Regions from separate parts of the Homo sapiens genome. Here region 2 is linked to region 1. The links are contacts of gene promoters, found by promoter capture Hi-C in human tissues and cell types (Jung and others, 2019). All regions are on one chromosome and are shown on one strand. The core of a region is centred on a gene start or on the middle of the fragment in contact, and the rest is flanking DNA. Distances in the headings are between cores, read along the strand shown.

Region 1 (7,438 bases), core at 1,765-4,264:
GTTGATAATGCACTAGAATCACTCATGGAACTGAGGAAAGTGCTGTAATTATCATTTATAGTTTTATTATAAATAATACAAATTAGGACCAGTCAAATGAGATATGTTAGGCAAGGTCTGCGAGAGTACCAAACACAGAGCCTCTGTGCTTTCTCCCTGCGGAATCAGGGCCATTACCCTCCCAGCACATCAATGTGTTCAGCAACCAGGAAGCTCAATGAAGCTTCAATGTCCAGAGTCTTTCCTGGGATTTCATCATGTAAGCATGACTGATTGAATCATTGGCCACAGGTTGAACTCAATCTCTGTCTTCTACCCCTCCCACAGGTTGGGCTGGCTCAGACATCCAGTCACTATTGGTCTTTCCAGTGACCAGCTCCCAATCTGAATTGTCTTGTTAGTAAACTCAGGAATAATCAAGGAGCTCATGAATAACAAAGATACTCCTGTCTCTTGAGAAATTCCAAGAATTTTTAAAGCTCCATGCCAGAAACCCAGAATTAACAAAGGCCAAAGTCTTTATTGTACCATAGGGGTGAACATTTTGAATTCCATTTTAAGTATGTTAACTTTTTTTTTTTTTTTTGAGACACAGGTTTACTTTGTCACCCAGGCTGGAGTGCAGTGGCAGTGATCCTGGCTCACTGCAACCTCCGCCTCTCGGTTTCAAGTGATTCCTGTGCCTCAGCCTCCCAAGTAGCTGGGATTATAGGTGCCCACCATCACGCCTGGCTAATTTTTGTATTTTTAGTAGAGATGGGGTTTCACCATGTTGGCCAGGCTGGTCTTGAACTCCTGACCTCAAGTGATCCACCTGCCTCAGCCTCCCAAAGTGCTGGAATTACAGGCGTGAACCACCACGACCAGCCCAATTTTCCCTTTTTTAGTCTTATTCTTTCAGGAGTGCACAATGGAGTTTTCCAGGGGCTCCGTGACATATAGTGACTTCATTGCTCTGATATTCATATGTAGGGGATTTATTATTGCTATTTTTAAATGCATTGATAAATCCATGTTAACTATTTCTCTTAGTTAAAAACAGTAAACATTTTTAGATATAATCCACCTAAACAAAAGCTATACTTTGTGCCCAATAATTTTTAAGAATGTAAAGGGATCCTGTGATCAAAATATTGAGACCTGCTGATTTTTCAAAAACTCAAATTTTACCAGTTGTTCCAATAATAAGCTTTTCCTTTTCTTGATTTTTCTGGCCAGGATACCACCCAGGTTAATTTAGTTTTCCTGTCTTTTTTTTTTTTTTTTTTTTTTTTGAGACAGAGTCTTGCTTTGTCACCCAGGCTGGAGTGCAGTGGCACGATATCGGCTCACCGTAACCTCCGCCTCCCGGGTTCAAGCAATTTTCTTGCCTCAGCCTCCCGAGTAGCTGGGATTACAGGCATGCGCTGCCATGCCTGGCTAATTTTTGTATTTTTAGTAGAGACGGGGTTTCACCATGTTGGCCAGGCAGGCCTCGAACTCCTGACCTCCAATGATCCGCCCACCTTGACCTCCCAAAGTGCTGGGATTACAGGTAGTTTTCCTGTCTTTTAAAAAGTCCACGGCTGGGCGCAGTGGCTCATGCCTGTAATCCCAGCACTTTGGGAGGCCAAAGCGGGCAGATCACCTGAGGTCGGGAGTTCGAGACCAGCCTGACCAACATGGAGAAATCTCATCTTTAATAAAAATACAAAATTAGCCGGGCGTGGCGGCGCATGCTTGTAATCCCAGCTACTCAGGAGGTTGAGGCAGAAGAATTGCTTGAACCCAGGAGGCAGAAGTTGTGGATAGCCAAGATCACACCATTGCACTTCAGCCTGGGCCACAAGAGCAAAACTGCATCTCAAAAAAAAAAAAAAAAAAAATCCTCCTTAATTCTCGGAATCCTACCTGGTTATTTTGTAGAATGTTCCTCAATTTATTTTTGTCCTATGTTTCATCATGATTGGATTCAGGTTATACATTATTTGGCAGAAATACCACAAGATTGATGTTGTGTCCTTCCCAGTGCAATATCAGGAGGCACATGATGTCTTGTTACTGGTTATGTTAACTTTGACAACGTTATTAAGGCAATTTAGTATTCAGTATTTAACAAACAAGCACACTAGTTTGTAGTCTTTTCTGGGCAAGTGAGGGTTTCTTCTCAATTTCAGTGCCTTTTCTACGCCCACCAATGCTATTAGTCACCTTTAAGGTGAAGACTGCTGAGATGGAATTATTTTTAGCAATGATAATAATTTGTTGGGGTAATAGTTGTACAGCCCTTTGCTGCCATCTAAGCACTTTTACGTGGTTTGGTTCATTTAAATCTAACAACCCAGTGAGGGGGCCAATTAGTAGCATTTATATTACATGAGAAATTAGAATTCTAGAATCACATACCTATTTATTATCATGACATGGCTAAGTCGAATTAATAGTGAGATAGGTAAATGGCTATTTTAGGCAGCAGATCCTTTTGTATGTGGTATCTGAAAAGCCACTGAGGCAGGAAGACAAGGAAGAAGAATTTGGGAGGATCTGCGTGCAGAGGAGTGGAAGAGGAAAGAGGAATACAATTAGAAATAGGATTCAGGCTGAATTTAAAGGCTTAGTGATGACGGGTTCTTAGGTTCGGGTATGTGGGAGAAAAAAACCAGCATAGAGACTACCTTCGGGGCAGAGTGGGTTCTGGGCACTGGGTAGGGGCTGGGCCCGGGATGGGGGGATCAAAGGGCTCTGGCGGGACCCAGATGTGGATGGGGCAGGGCCGAGCGTGGGGACTGGGCTTTTCAATGACGGGCGGGGTTACGGTTGGGCAGCAGGTGGGCGTGGCAGGCATAGGCGGAGTCAATCTATGAGTGGGTGGGCCTATCGCCAGGCCGAGAGTGGGCGTGGCCGACGTGGGGTGGGTAGCAGCCGACCGAGTCGGACCGGCCAGTTGGGCGCGCTTCCGGGTGTCACCTCCAGAGGGCGCCGGCTGCGGAGCCGCCCTCAGAGTCGCGAGGCCGGACGCAGCGCGGCGCCGCCCCACTCGCCCCAGCCGCCGCCATGAAGGCCGTGGTGCAGCGCGTCACCCGGGCCAGCGTCACAGGTCAGTCGGGCGGGGCCGGGCCCGGGAGGAGCCGCCCCTGACCCCCGCGACCGGCTGTCTTGCGTGGGGGGTCTTCCTGCGCCATCCTTGGGGCCGCTGCGGCCCCTCCGCGAGCCTGGTCCCCTTCGCGAGCTCGGTCCGCGCAGCCGCGAGTCCCCAGGGCCGGCTTCGGGGCAGCGCGGCGGCCGGAGAGCCCCCTGCACGTGCCCGACCGGCCCCGGCGCGCCCCTGGCTTCCGGCTCTCGGCAGAGGGTGCAGGACCAGCGCGCCTCATTCTCAGCACCTTTGTCCTGCGTGCGGGATGGCGGAGCCTCGGAGCATCTCCGTGGTCCGCTCTTCAGGGAGTGTTGATGAACCACGCTTAGAGCATTTCCGGAGCAGGCACTCCTCCCTTTTCACTGCTGTATTTTAAATGTTCAATTTTTGCCCATTTTTACGTATTCCAATTTTTATGGGGCTTGACTCAGGATGAAATGCACAGATGCGGAGAGTTGCTCCTTGGGCTGAGCTTTGACAGTTGCGTGCACGTACGTGACTGGAGCCTAGGCTGGATGAGGGGCGCCCCCTGCCCAGGACGCCCCTCGCCCTCGCCCGCTGAACTCTGCGCGGAGGGGTCGGGATCTAAAGAATTCAAGATGAAAACATTTCTCTTTTTCTTGTGGACCAAGCTACCCGACCCCTGGTCATCACTCAGCACTTTCGTCTCGGTTGGGCATCAGAGGTCCAGATGATTAGTGTAGATAAAGTAGTCGTTTTAAGAAAACCACGGTACGAAAGATATTTTTTAAAAAACATTTAAATGACAAGCTTTATATTGTCTTTAGTCTTTTCTGTCTTTATTGGCACAACTATATTGTTTCAGTTCAAATAATTTCAGATATCCTGTCCTTGGAGCCAGTCTGCACCAAATATGCGTTCTTGTGTCCACAAAAGTATGAATTAAAAACAAAACAGGCCGGGGGCTGTGGCTCACACCTGTAATCCCAGCTCTTTGGGAGGCCAAGGCGGGCAGATCACCTGAGGCCAGGAGTTCGAGACCAGCCTGGCCAACATAGAGAAACCCTATCTCTACTACAAATACAAAAATTAGCCGGGAGCGGTGGTTGGTGCCTATAATCCCAGCTACTCGGGAGGCTGAGGTAGGAGAATCGCTTGAACCCGGGAGGCAGAGGTTGCAGTGAGCCGAGATTGTGCCAGTAACCTCCAGCCTGGGCGACAGAGCGAGACTCTGTCTCAAAAAACAACAAACAAACAAAACCCCAAAACAAAAAACAAAACAAAACAAAAACAACAAAAAACCCTAAAGAAACAACCAAACCCACCAAAACCGTATATTTAAATCTAAGAGTCTATTTTTCAACCCCGCCTAATGATTTCTAAGCTGTTCTGGTAGCTTTGGTTTTGGAAATGGTCCTGGAATAATAGGGAATAGAGTAGCACTGGGATTTAGGAATTTTAAAGCTTTTATAACATTTCTGTAGATATTTAAATTCATGAAAACTGGGAAAATTCATAGATGAAAGATGTTTTGCATTATTGAGAAGAACCTTGCAGTCTGCTGCTGTGTGTGGTCGTCACTGACAGATTTAAATTTTGATCTCTCTCCTGAACTCTCCATCCTGCTAATCTGGAATATTGAAAATGTGTATTCTGTGAGATGTGCTGAATAAGAGTTTGGGTTATTTTGGTTCACTATTTAAGTTATATGCTTTCAGTTAAAACAACCAAACCTGCATATTAAAAAAGATAAGGGTGTTAATTATGGGAAAGTGTAAATAATTCGGGAATTCTGGGTTGGGGAACTGTGGAATTCTGTTAGAAGGGCCCTCCACTTATGCAGGCCTTCTAGTTGCATTGTAATGGAAAGGGATTTTCTGATTCCTTTAAAATGTGGCTGGTTTCACTGAAATGTGGCTGTGTTTGAATGGCATTTTATTTTAGGGGTTCTAAAATGTTAACTTCCTGTTTTATGGTCAGGACAGCATAGATTATCAGGAGTCACACATTTTATTTTATTTTAAAATAGTTGGTTGACTTCACATTTATTTTAAATTTATGCATTTATGGTTTGTTTGTTTTAGAGATGGGGTCTTGCTCTGTCACCCAGGCTGGAGTGCAGTGGCACTATTATAGCTTACTACAACCTCAAACGCTTGGGCTCAAGTGATCCTTTAGTTTCAGCATCCTGAGTAGTTAGACTACAGGCGTGTGCCGCCACCGCTATGTCCAGCTTAGGAGTCACACATTTTACTATGTGGTATATTCAATTTATGTGATTGGTCAAACACATTTTTTTTTATAGTAACCCTGTAATATCATTTGATGCCCAGTCCATCAGATTTCTCCAATTGGCTAATTGGTTTTGTTTTTGTTTTGAGAGAGTCTTGCTCTGTTGCCGAGGCTGGAGTACAGTGGTGCCATCTCTGATCACTGCAGCCTCTGCCTCCTGGGTTCAAGCGATTCTCATGCCTCTGTGTCCTGAGTAGCTGGTCTTACAGGTGCGCGCCACTGTGCCTGGCTAATTTTTTTGTATTTTTAGTGGAGACAGGGTTTTGCCATGTTGACTAGGCTGGTCTCAAATTCCTGGCCTCAAGTGATTTGCCTGCCTCGGCTTCCCAAAGTGCTGGGATTACAGGCATGAGCCACTGCACCCAGCTTGATCAAACACATTTTGATGCCTTAGGTTGGGTACTGTGATAATCTAATTTTTAAAAGTTTATTATGGCACATTTCAAACATATTAACAGACGGAATAGGGCAATAACCCCCATGTCCCATCATTCATTGTCAGCAGCTAAAATTTGATGTCTGTGAACAGTGTTGGAAGAGGATCTAAAATGTTTGGGTTTAACTAGGTTAACTTCAAAGGTTATGAATTCTTGAAGTAGAGATCTCAGGTCTGATGCCACTAGTAGGTAGAAAAATTGACCAAACATCTCAGTCTTTTCCAGCCCTTTGATCTTTTGTTCAAAGTGGTGATTCTCAGATTTTTTCCCTTGGTGATCCATTTACTTATAATAAAAAATCCTTTTGAATCTCCTAGTCCTTCTACTTGTCCCTGGAGGGGGGACAAAACTGCTCCAAAATAAGACAGCAGTCTCTGTGTCATATATAGACTTTGGGCCATAATTTGTTTCATGTTAAGATAATTATAAAACTGTCAAAATTCTTTGACAGTGATTCTAGAATCTAAGCAGATAATCCTAACTGTAGAAAAGGCTTTAGTGTACGAAGATTTTCACTACACTGTTATTTACTGAGGTGAAAATTTTGAAAGAAGCCATATGTCCAGCAAGATGGAATGGTTAATCAGTCTACTTGATGAGCTGAATCTATTAAAAGGTGTTTAGGAAAAGGTTATGACATGAAAAAATTCTTATGCAATATTATTATAAAAATTTATATGCAATGTTATTATAGTAGTTGAAAACAAATATGAATTAAAATGTATGAATAGATACAATATTAAAAGGAAATCATTAAAATATTAAAGTACTTACCTTTGTTCTTTTTTTCATGTTTCTCATATTTTCTAAAATATATAATCCTTACTTTGATGATAGATATAACTTCATGACCTTTATTTTTTAAAACATACTTTGGGAAAAATTTAGAAAGTATATCAATATTGTAAGAAAGTAATGTTGATTTATTCAAAGAACAAATAAAGCCAAAGGCTTTTTCTGAAGCAATGCAAATGAGCAAACCAACCCCCAATTGTTTACTGCCTATGTCAGGATAGATTATTTCTATTTCAGCTTTTGAGGCAGTGGCTCAAAGGACAATAAGTCACACACACATAGTTCATTATAAGAAAAGCAGCACAGAAGAAAAGATTTAAAAAATTTTAGCCTAAAAATAAAGAAATTAAGCATTACTGATATTTCAGGAATGGATTGATGTGCTCTGCTGGGATCTGAATAGCAGGTGGTCTCTTGCCATTGCAACTGAAGAAAGAGGGAAGTTTCTCACCCTTTCTTTAGCAGTGTATTGTAACATGACATAGTCTATGTTACTGTGTTAGTTATATTTATAGCTATTACCCTGCAGAAGCAAGCAAACAGCAAGAAAATGGCTGAGGTGACCCTTCTATTCCGATTAGCACATTAGGTCAGTACAAGATGAAGTAGTAAAATAACATAATCTAATAAGATTGGCAAATAATTGGCAAAAAATAGAAAATTTTCAAAAGCACCACTTGAAATACAGATTTAGCTGGGTATGATGGCGTGCATCCATAGTCCCAGCTACTCTGGAAGCTGAGGCAGGGAGGATTGCTTGAGCCCAGGGGTTCTGGGCTATAGTACACTATGCTGACCTGCTGTCATACCAAAGTTCTGCATCAATATGGTGAGTTCCCAG
Region 2 (7,438 bases), core at 3,292-5,791, 190 kb before region 1:
TCTAAGAAAACTTGAGAAAATAAATTCCAAGCATCGAAGCTTTACACCAACACACCAAACATTCTGCTGTAAAATAAAACTAACAAAAGGGGGGTAGAAGCTATTAAAATGCAGACATTAGTAAAATGCATATAGAAAAATTAACAGGATTATATTTTGAACACTAACACTAGAGACAGTTTTGAAACAGAGAATAACAGAAGCAAAGCTACTGAAATTTTGGCCTCCGTGGTAGCATGAAGTACACAGCAGAATGTTCCACTGACACGGACCTTGACCTCGCCTTAGTAAGACTTCAGGAGGTAGGAGTGTTAGATGCCTGTGATGTCCCTAGAAGACTCATTTCAACAACGTAGTCGGCAAGATATGAGAAGTTAACATGAATGACTCATGCTCAAGGAATTTTCACCCCATATTTTCAAAGTACTTTTTGAAAGAACAACAGAAGCACACAGCTAGAAGAGAAGGTTATTGGACAGGAGTGGACCAAGACTGGGAGGGTAAGTAACAGGACTTGGTACCTTTCTGTTTTGTATCACGGGTGGGAAAGCAAGGCAGCAGGAGACCATGTGGTGACCTCAGATGTACCAGTCTCCTCTGCAGTGGTGTGAGATCTGGAGACAACCGTATGATATTTTCTTTCTGCATTAACTTCATGGGGATATTTTCATGGGGAATACACTAAGGTCTGTCTTCCCTTGGTGTTTTCACGATTCATGATGAAAACATTGATTAACACCCCAAGGGCTAAGGATTTACTGGCCCCACACAGTATAAGTTTATGAATTAACAAAATGTATCATCATTTATAAAAGCCACTAAATTAGGCAATCCAACAGTCCATTTTTAAAATTTCGCTTTACCCAGCTATGGAAAACAGAAGGCGTTAAGCCTCTTATTAAAGCTGAAATAGGTTAAAATGGTTAAAGTGGCTGAAACTGAACAGGGTGTGTGTGTAGACCGCTTCTGCTGCAGTGGAGCTCCAAGCAGTCAGCCTGCTGCTACCTTAGCTCTCCTTTCAATGTGTTTCACTTACGGCCCCCACTGCTGGTCGATGTCTGCTCCTCTCTGCACGAGAACTGGAATCGCTTCATGGTGCTTATTCATAACAGCCACGGTTATGACGGGTCGATTGTCTTCATCACAGCAGTTGGGGTCTGCTCCCTGCAGCAAACGGAAAAGGACAAACTCTCCAAAACACCCTGCACTCAACAGCATCCAGTCGCCATCCTATGAAGTATAACAGATGTCCTTTACAGAGCTGATGCAACTAAAGTGCTTTCAGATCAAAGGAGAGGAGAATCAGGAACCTCAAGACCTGATCTACGATGAACAGAGCTACAAAGTTACCCAGGTGACAAAACTTCTGTTCCCCACATGGGCGGGGAGGGGAGGGCAGGCACCCTGACAACCTTGCTTCTTTAGGAAACCCAGGATAAAGGTAATATGGGGTCATGGGCCAGAGATTCTATCCAGCTTCATGCATGTTCCTTGGTCTCATCTGTGCTTCTCTGCCTATTTTCTCTGATATAAAAACTAGCAACAGGGAACAATTAATATAAAGCTTTTGACTAGCCATTCACTATATCCCGGGTTTTTAATCAAAGGGCAGTGTAATTTTCACAGTATTGAACAAAACTTTCATCTGAAGGAGACAGAGGTGGAATGCCAGGCTGAACTCTTCAGAGAGACTGGCTCCTTTGGCAACACTTACCTCATCCAGCAGCTGTTCAATCACAGAGACTCTTCCTTCCCCCGTGGGTCCGACTTCCTTCAGCAGGAGTCTGTTTTCAGGCTGCAGGATTACAGAATGTGGTCATTTCCCCCACTTCAAAATATTCACTCAAGGCAAACACTTTCTTTCCAACATTGAATTCTAAGTCACAAGGACAGGTGACTATGAGTGTGTGCATGTGTGAGTGTGTGAGTGGTCTTTAATAGCCCACAGCACAAATATCCACATCTAATATCAATCTTGCTGCTCCAAAACCTTGCTTCAGGCAAGGTTACCGCATGGACACTATTTTATATTAAGGACAAGGATGCCATGAGAAACCTCACAAAACCCAGAAACTCCACACTAGTTTTATTATGACTAGAGCTCTAGGAAAAGCAATCAGGTGAATCCTAAAATTTATTTTGCATACTTTATAAAGTGTTCAAGGTCAGCCAAAGTATGACAGTTCAGAAAATATACTCCCCTGAGGAACGAATGAGCCAATAAATTGACTTCTTCTTTAGAAAAAAAAGGAGGGGCATAGTAGCTCACACCTGTAATCCCAGCACTTTGGGAGGCCAAGGCATGCAGATCATTTGAGGTCAGGAGTTTGAGACCAGCCTAGCCAACATGGTGAAACCGTGTCTCTACTGAAAATATAAAAATTAGCCACGTGTTAGCTGCCTATAATCCCAGCTACTTGGGAGGCTAAGGCAGGAGAATCGCTTGAATCCAGGAAGCAGAGGTTGCAGTGAGCGGAGATCATACAACTACACTCCAGCCTGGGCAACACAGTGGGACTCTGTCTCAAAAAACAAAACAAAACAAAGAAAAAGCTCTCAGCAATTTCAAGATCTTTTTTTTTTCTCTGAGATGGAGTCTTGCTCTGTCACCCAGGCTGGAATGCAGTGGCACGATCCTGGCTCACTGCAACCTCCGTCTCATAGGTTTCAGCAATTCTCCTGTCTCAGCCTCCTGAGTAGCTGGGACTACAGGCACATGCCACTATGCCTGGCTAATTTTTTGTATTTTTAATAGAGATGGGGTTTCACCATGTTAGCCAGGATGGTCTCGATCACCTGACCTCATGATCTGCCTGCCTCAGCCTCCCTAAGTGCTGGGATTACAGGCGTGAGTCACTGGGCCTGGCTGAGTAACTTATCTTTTTATATTTTTAAATGCCATAAATTCATCTTTATATATAAAGAATTTCAAATGCTGAAAGACTGAAGGAAGCTGTTTAGAAAGCAAGAGACATTGCTTTTAGTATGTTTCTGCCTCTGGATCCCGGGCATGGCTGTGGGGTGGTCACAGGACCACCATTTCCATTTGTAAAGTGGAAATAATACCTTCCCTGTCCTTGCTCCTGTGAAGCCATGGCCATGAGGACACTGGTCAAGGCCTCTGAGCCTTTCAGAAGATGATGCCTGGTCCAGGCGGTGCTGCCTCCTTTCTCGCTGTCCCCATCTTACTGATGAATAGCTTAGAACCAAGTACTCTAATCAGTAAACCCCCAGCAGGGGTCTTGGGGAGCACTTGTTTACACTGATTTCCATTCCTCATGGAAATGTGTACTAGAATGCAGTAGGCATGTCAGCTTCAGGAGGTGTGAGACCTTTACGTCTTTTGTTTAGGTTTTATTTTCAACACGTAGAACAGTGCCTGGTACACGTGTGCTCAAAAATAATCACTGAATGAGTGAACAAATGTTACAGCTTCTGATACTTATCCCCTAAGTGCAAATGAGAAAAAAAAGCCATATACAGTGGAAGATTCAGGTTATACACAGAGTAAATAGGTAGAGTCTCCCAAATTGTAAGCTGTTCAGTTTATGGAACTCTATGCTTTTATACCCAATAACAATATTTCAAACTGGGAGAAGGTGGTGAGTACAAGAAATCCTAAAATACAAAAGTTGAAACAATTCTAACATATTCTTTCCAAATGTACTGGTGTTTGTTACATACAAAGCATGTGGTGGGAAGAAAAAAAAGATAAAGAACAGAGTCCCTGCCTCCAGAGGAATCAGGAGGCAAGCTGGGCAGCTAGTGCACTGACAAGGCGGCGTTGAGGGCCTGGCCTTGGAACCACACATGGAGGGAAGCACACGGCATCATGCAAGTGTCCAGCTCGGACCCGGGCCCAGGCCTTGGGACTTGCTGCTAATCACATCTGTTCTTTGTATTGCAGCCAAGGAGGACCAATTAAAAGGCAAGGCTGGGGATGGAGCAGGTGGCATCCACTGCCCTTTTCTCCAAAGCTCCTTTTAGAACTATTCTTGGCATATATTTTTAAAACACAAAACTCTAAAGATGTGGGAAACTCTAAAACGGTACTGACCATCGGTGAATTAGTAATTTTGAGAAATTCCAAGAAGACTGAAAGTAGATGAAATCTGACAGGGAAACCAAACCAAACCAAACCAAACCAAACCAACAAAAATCCAGCTGAAGATACCAGAGGTAGGAGTGTTTTCTTTCCAGGGGAGCCCTGCAGAAGCTTAAATTAATCCATATGGAGGTTAGGTGTTGGGCGTAGCCTGAATGCATGAGTAGATTATTAAGGGCTCCGTGGTGAATAGCTGAGATCGCTAGTGCCTTACCCCTTCTTCCCCATGTAAGAAGGGCAGGAGGCTTGTGCACTTTGCCCTGATAACTATTTCGCAGAAAGCATAAGATTTGCCCAACAAAGGCTTCTACTTGGTGCACTGGGGCCCAAGAAAGGAGAAGGGCAGAGCCTAGACCTCCATGACAGACACAGGGGAGGGTGTAGAGGGAAAGGAAAAAAGCTTCATCCCAAGCTGAAACCCGTGAGAGCGCTTCACACACCAACACCCTCACCACCAGAGGAAGACCTTTTCCACCAGCAACACAGGGGATCTGAAGGCTTTCTCCTGCTCCCTGCCCACACTCCCTCCAGGGACGTCTGTCCACGACATGCCTGTCCACTCACACAGGGACTTCAGGGTCCATCCTCATGCTGGGCACCAGGCCAGCATCTGCACTACCCAACTAGTCTTCATTTGTCAAACGACCAGACAACCAAGGTTCCATATTTGAGGCAAACCAAAGTCGAAAGATAGGCAGACAGAACTGACCCCAGAGGAAACACAGAGATGATTCAGGAAACTGATGGGAACTTTGAAATAACTCTAATTCATAATCTTGAGATACTTTAAAGAAGTCTAAAGGACAAGGATGCCATGAGAAACCTCATAAAAAAGGAACAGAAAATGAGAAATTATTCTTCCATTTTAAAAAAGGTCAAAATAAAACCTGAAAATCACAGGCTGAAGACAACATCCACAAGGACCAAAAAAAGACACTTACTATAAGCTGCTCCTTCTTTTCTTGAAAAGTTTTGGTCTTGAAATTCTTTATCCTTTTGATTTTTTCAATAGTATCTGAGGTACTCTGGCTGTAGTCACTCACTGAAATGACACAGTTGGGGAAAAAAATGATGCCCCTCCCCCAACTCCCCACACAAACAGTTATTTCTTACTTCCACGTCCCTCAAAAGTCAGAGGATAAAATGGCTATCATAGAAATTTCTATTTGATTAAACCCGGCAGGAGAGACTCCTGGAGCCACTCTCCTGTCCAGGAACCAGAGGAAGGGTGGGAAGGAGAGGAAAAGAGGGACTTCGGTTTTTAGGTCCAAAAGTGCACCCCACAAATGAATTTCCCCAAGCCCTGTAAAGGACTTCAAAAGTCTCACCTCTGACTTCAGAGAAGCCAGAGAAATAAAACGTCTGGAACATAACTGCAAGATCTGTGACCGGGCTGTCAAACTCTTAGCAGTTCTCTGCTATACCTGCCAAGTCCATGTGTTCCTGGTCAGTTGTTTTAAAATTGCCAGAAGGGAATAACTCACCCCAGCTGGACCTGCTGCCGCACAGCCCCCCATCACCCTCGGCAGCACTGCTCAGAAGGTGATCGCTGAAATTCACTGCCTTGTTCAGGTAAAGGTTCTGGCCAATGAAAACATTTAAACACCATGAATGATGAGGCTGCTTTGTCCCACTAGAAAGAAGGATCTCCCTTCTAACCTGCTCCTCCTTATTAAGTACAGCTCTACCTACCCAGAGAGTGGAGCCTGAGACCTGGATGTCCTTCCTGACTCCTCCTCACCTCCCCAGCATGCTTTGTCCGTTCTGCCCCTTACCCGCGGCTCAGTCTGGCCCCTCCTCCTCTCCCTCCCTGAAGCCCCAGCCCCCTCGTCTCACATTGGGACCATCACAATAGCCTTTCAACAGGGGTCTGCCAGCCTCCCTGCATGTGGCTGTCCCAGTCACCTTTAGATCCTTTATAAGTGATTGTGTCATTTCTCTGCTTAAAGTCCTTCAATGTCTTGGAATTAGGGTGTCATGATGGGAAGGTCTCAGGCTGCCAAGTGTGAATCCTGGGTCTGCCACTTACTAACTTAGTGCCCTTGGAAGAAGCAGGTTGCTTAACTTCTCTGAGCCTCAGTTTCCTCACCTGGAAAGTGGAAATAATATGACCTACCTCAATGGCATGTCGTGAAAGCAAAATGCAGTAAAATGGGCGTCTACATAATGAGGCCAGACACAGAAGTCTGTGTGCACCCGGACTGATCCCCCTGCACCCTCACGTGGCTGCCTGCTCCTGTCCCAGGGAAGAGCCTGCTACTTCCTGAACACTAGAACATGCAGGCTAACAAAAGATTTATTAAACCTAGGGCCCAGGTGCAGTGGCTCACTTCTGTAATCCCAGCACTTTGGGAGGCTGAGGCAGGTGATCACTTGAGGCCAGGAGTTCGAGACCAGCCTGGCCAACATGGTGAAACCCCATCTCTACTAAAAATACAAAACTTAGCTGGGTGTGGTGGTGTGACCCTGTAATCCCAGCTACACAGGCAGCTGAGGAACGAGAATTGCTGGAACCCAGGAGGGGGAGGTTTGCAGTGAGCCAAGATTGTGCTACTGCACTCCAGCCTGGTTGACAGAGCAAGAATCTGTCTCAAAACAAAGCAAAACAAAACCAAACCAAAACAAAACAATGACCTGGGAACAGTTACTCCAATTCTACTTGTGAGATAGCTAGCACATTGGAGGTGCTGCTGGTGGCCTGCCCCATTCCCACTAGCTGGCCAGGTTACTCACCCCAGCTGTTGTGTAGCTGCTAAGAGCTTACTGCTGGACCTCCTTCCCCAGCAAAGTGCCCTCAGTAGGTGGATGCTGCTTTGCCCTAGAGGTCATGCTCCCTCTCCTCCTTGCCTCAACTGGGGACAACTTTGTGGTTTAATTCATTCTCCAGAGTTCCCCTTGGATCAGGCTAAAGCTCAACTTTGCTTTTGTCTACCTGCTCATTCAGTCCCTTCCCCTTCCTTGACCTGCTTCTCTCACTTCCCTTCCCCTGAAGTTCCTCTCTGACCCAAGCTCTGCTCTAGTCACAACAATTAAAAAGAGCAGTTAGTGCTTTATTTGGTTTCAAAGCACATTCATGTGCATTAGCTCGTTAGATACTCCCAGCCTCCCCATGAGTTAGACAGGGCCCATGCTTCTATCCCAATTTCAACAACACCATTAGCACCTTGCCAGGGCCTAATAAATGTTAATTTCCCTCCTTTTCCTTGGCTTCTCAATTGATTGATTAATTATTCTGACTTTTTGTCCAGTGAAACTAAAGCTGCTAATGTCAATCAATTAATGTTTGAAACACATTTACAGGCTCTGTGGCAATGCCCCCGTCACCATATAAAA

What was found. Contacts are between HindIII fragments. The study calls those that stand out against the background at their distance.
Region 2: a fragment that was not itself captured here is called in contact with the fragment with the promoter of DTD1 in region 1 in 1 of the 25 tissues and cell types used here (liver).

The regions. Positions count from the first base shown.
Region 1 is chr20:18,585,040-18,592,477 of GRCh38, forward strand. It overlaps DTD1 (D-aminoacyl-tRNA deacylase 1), which reads left to right and starts at 3,015. Exons shown (of 6, transcript NM_080820.6): 1 at 3,015-3,076. The coding sequence starts at 3,034. It overlaps LOC124904878 (a long non-coding RNA gene), which reads right to left and starts at 2,426. Exons shown (of 3, transcript XR_007067547.1): 1 at 2,386-2,426. It also overlaps the pseudogene RN7SL638P. RefSeq lists enhancers at 186-480, 3,152-3,651, 3,492-3,551 and a silencer at 2,842-3,381. The HindIII fragment of the contact is 3,504 bases long and covers 707-4,210 here.
Region 2 is chr20:18,388,665-18,396,102 of GRCh38, forward strand. DZANK1 (double zinc ribbon and ankyrin repeat domains 1) reads right to left here. Exons shown (of 21, transcript NM_001367614.1): 16 at 5,590-5,686; 17 at 5,047-5,147; 18 at 1,715-1,795; 19 at 1,037-1,164. It overlaps LOC124904877 (a long non-coding RNA gene), which reads left to right and starts at 1,160. Exons shown (of 2, transcript XR_007067546.1): 1 at 1,160-1,354. RefSeq lists an enhancer at 261-1,460. The HindIII fragment of the contact is 3,303 bases long and covers 2,891-6,193 here.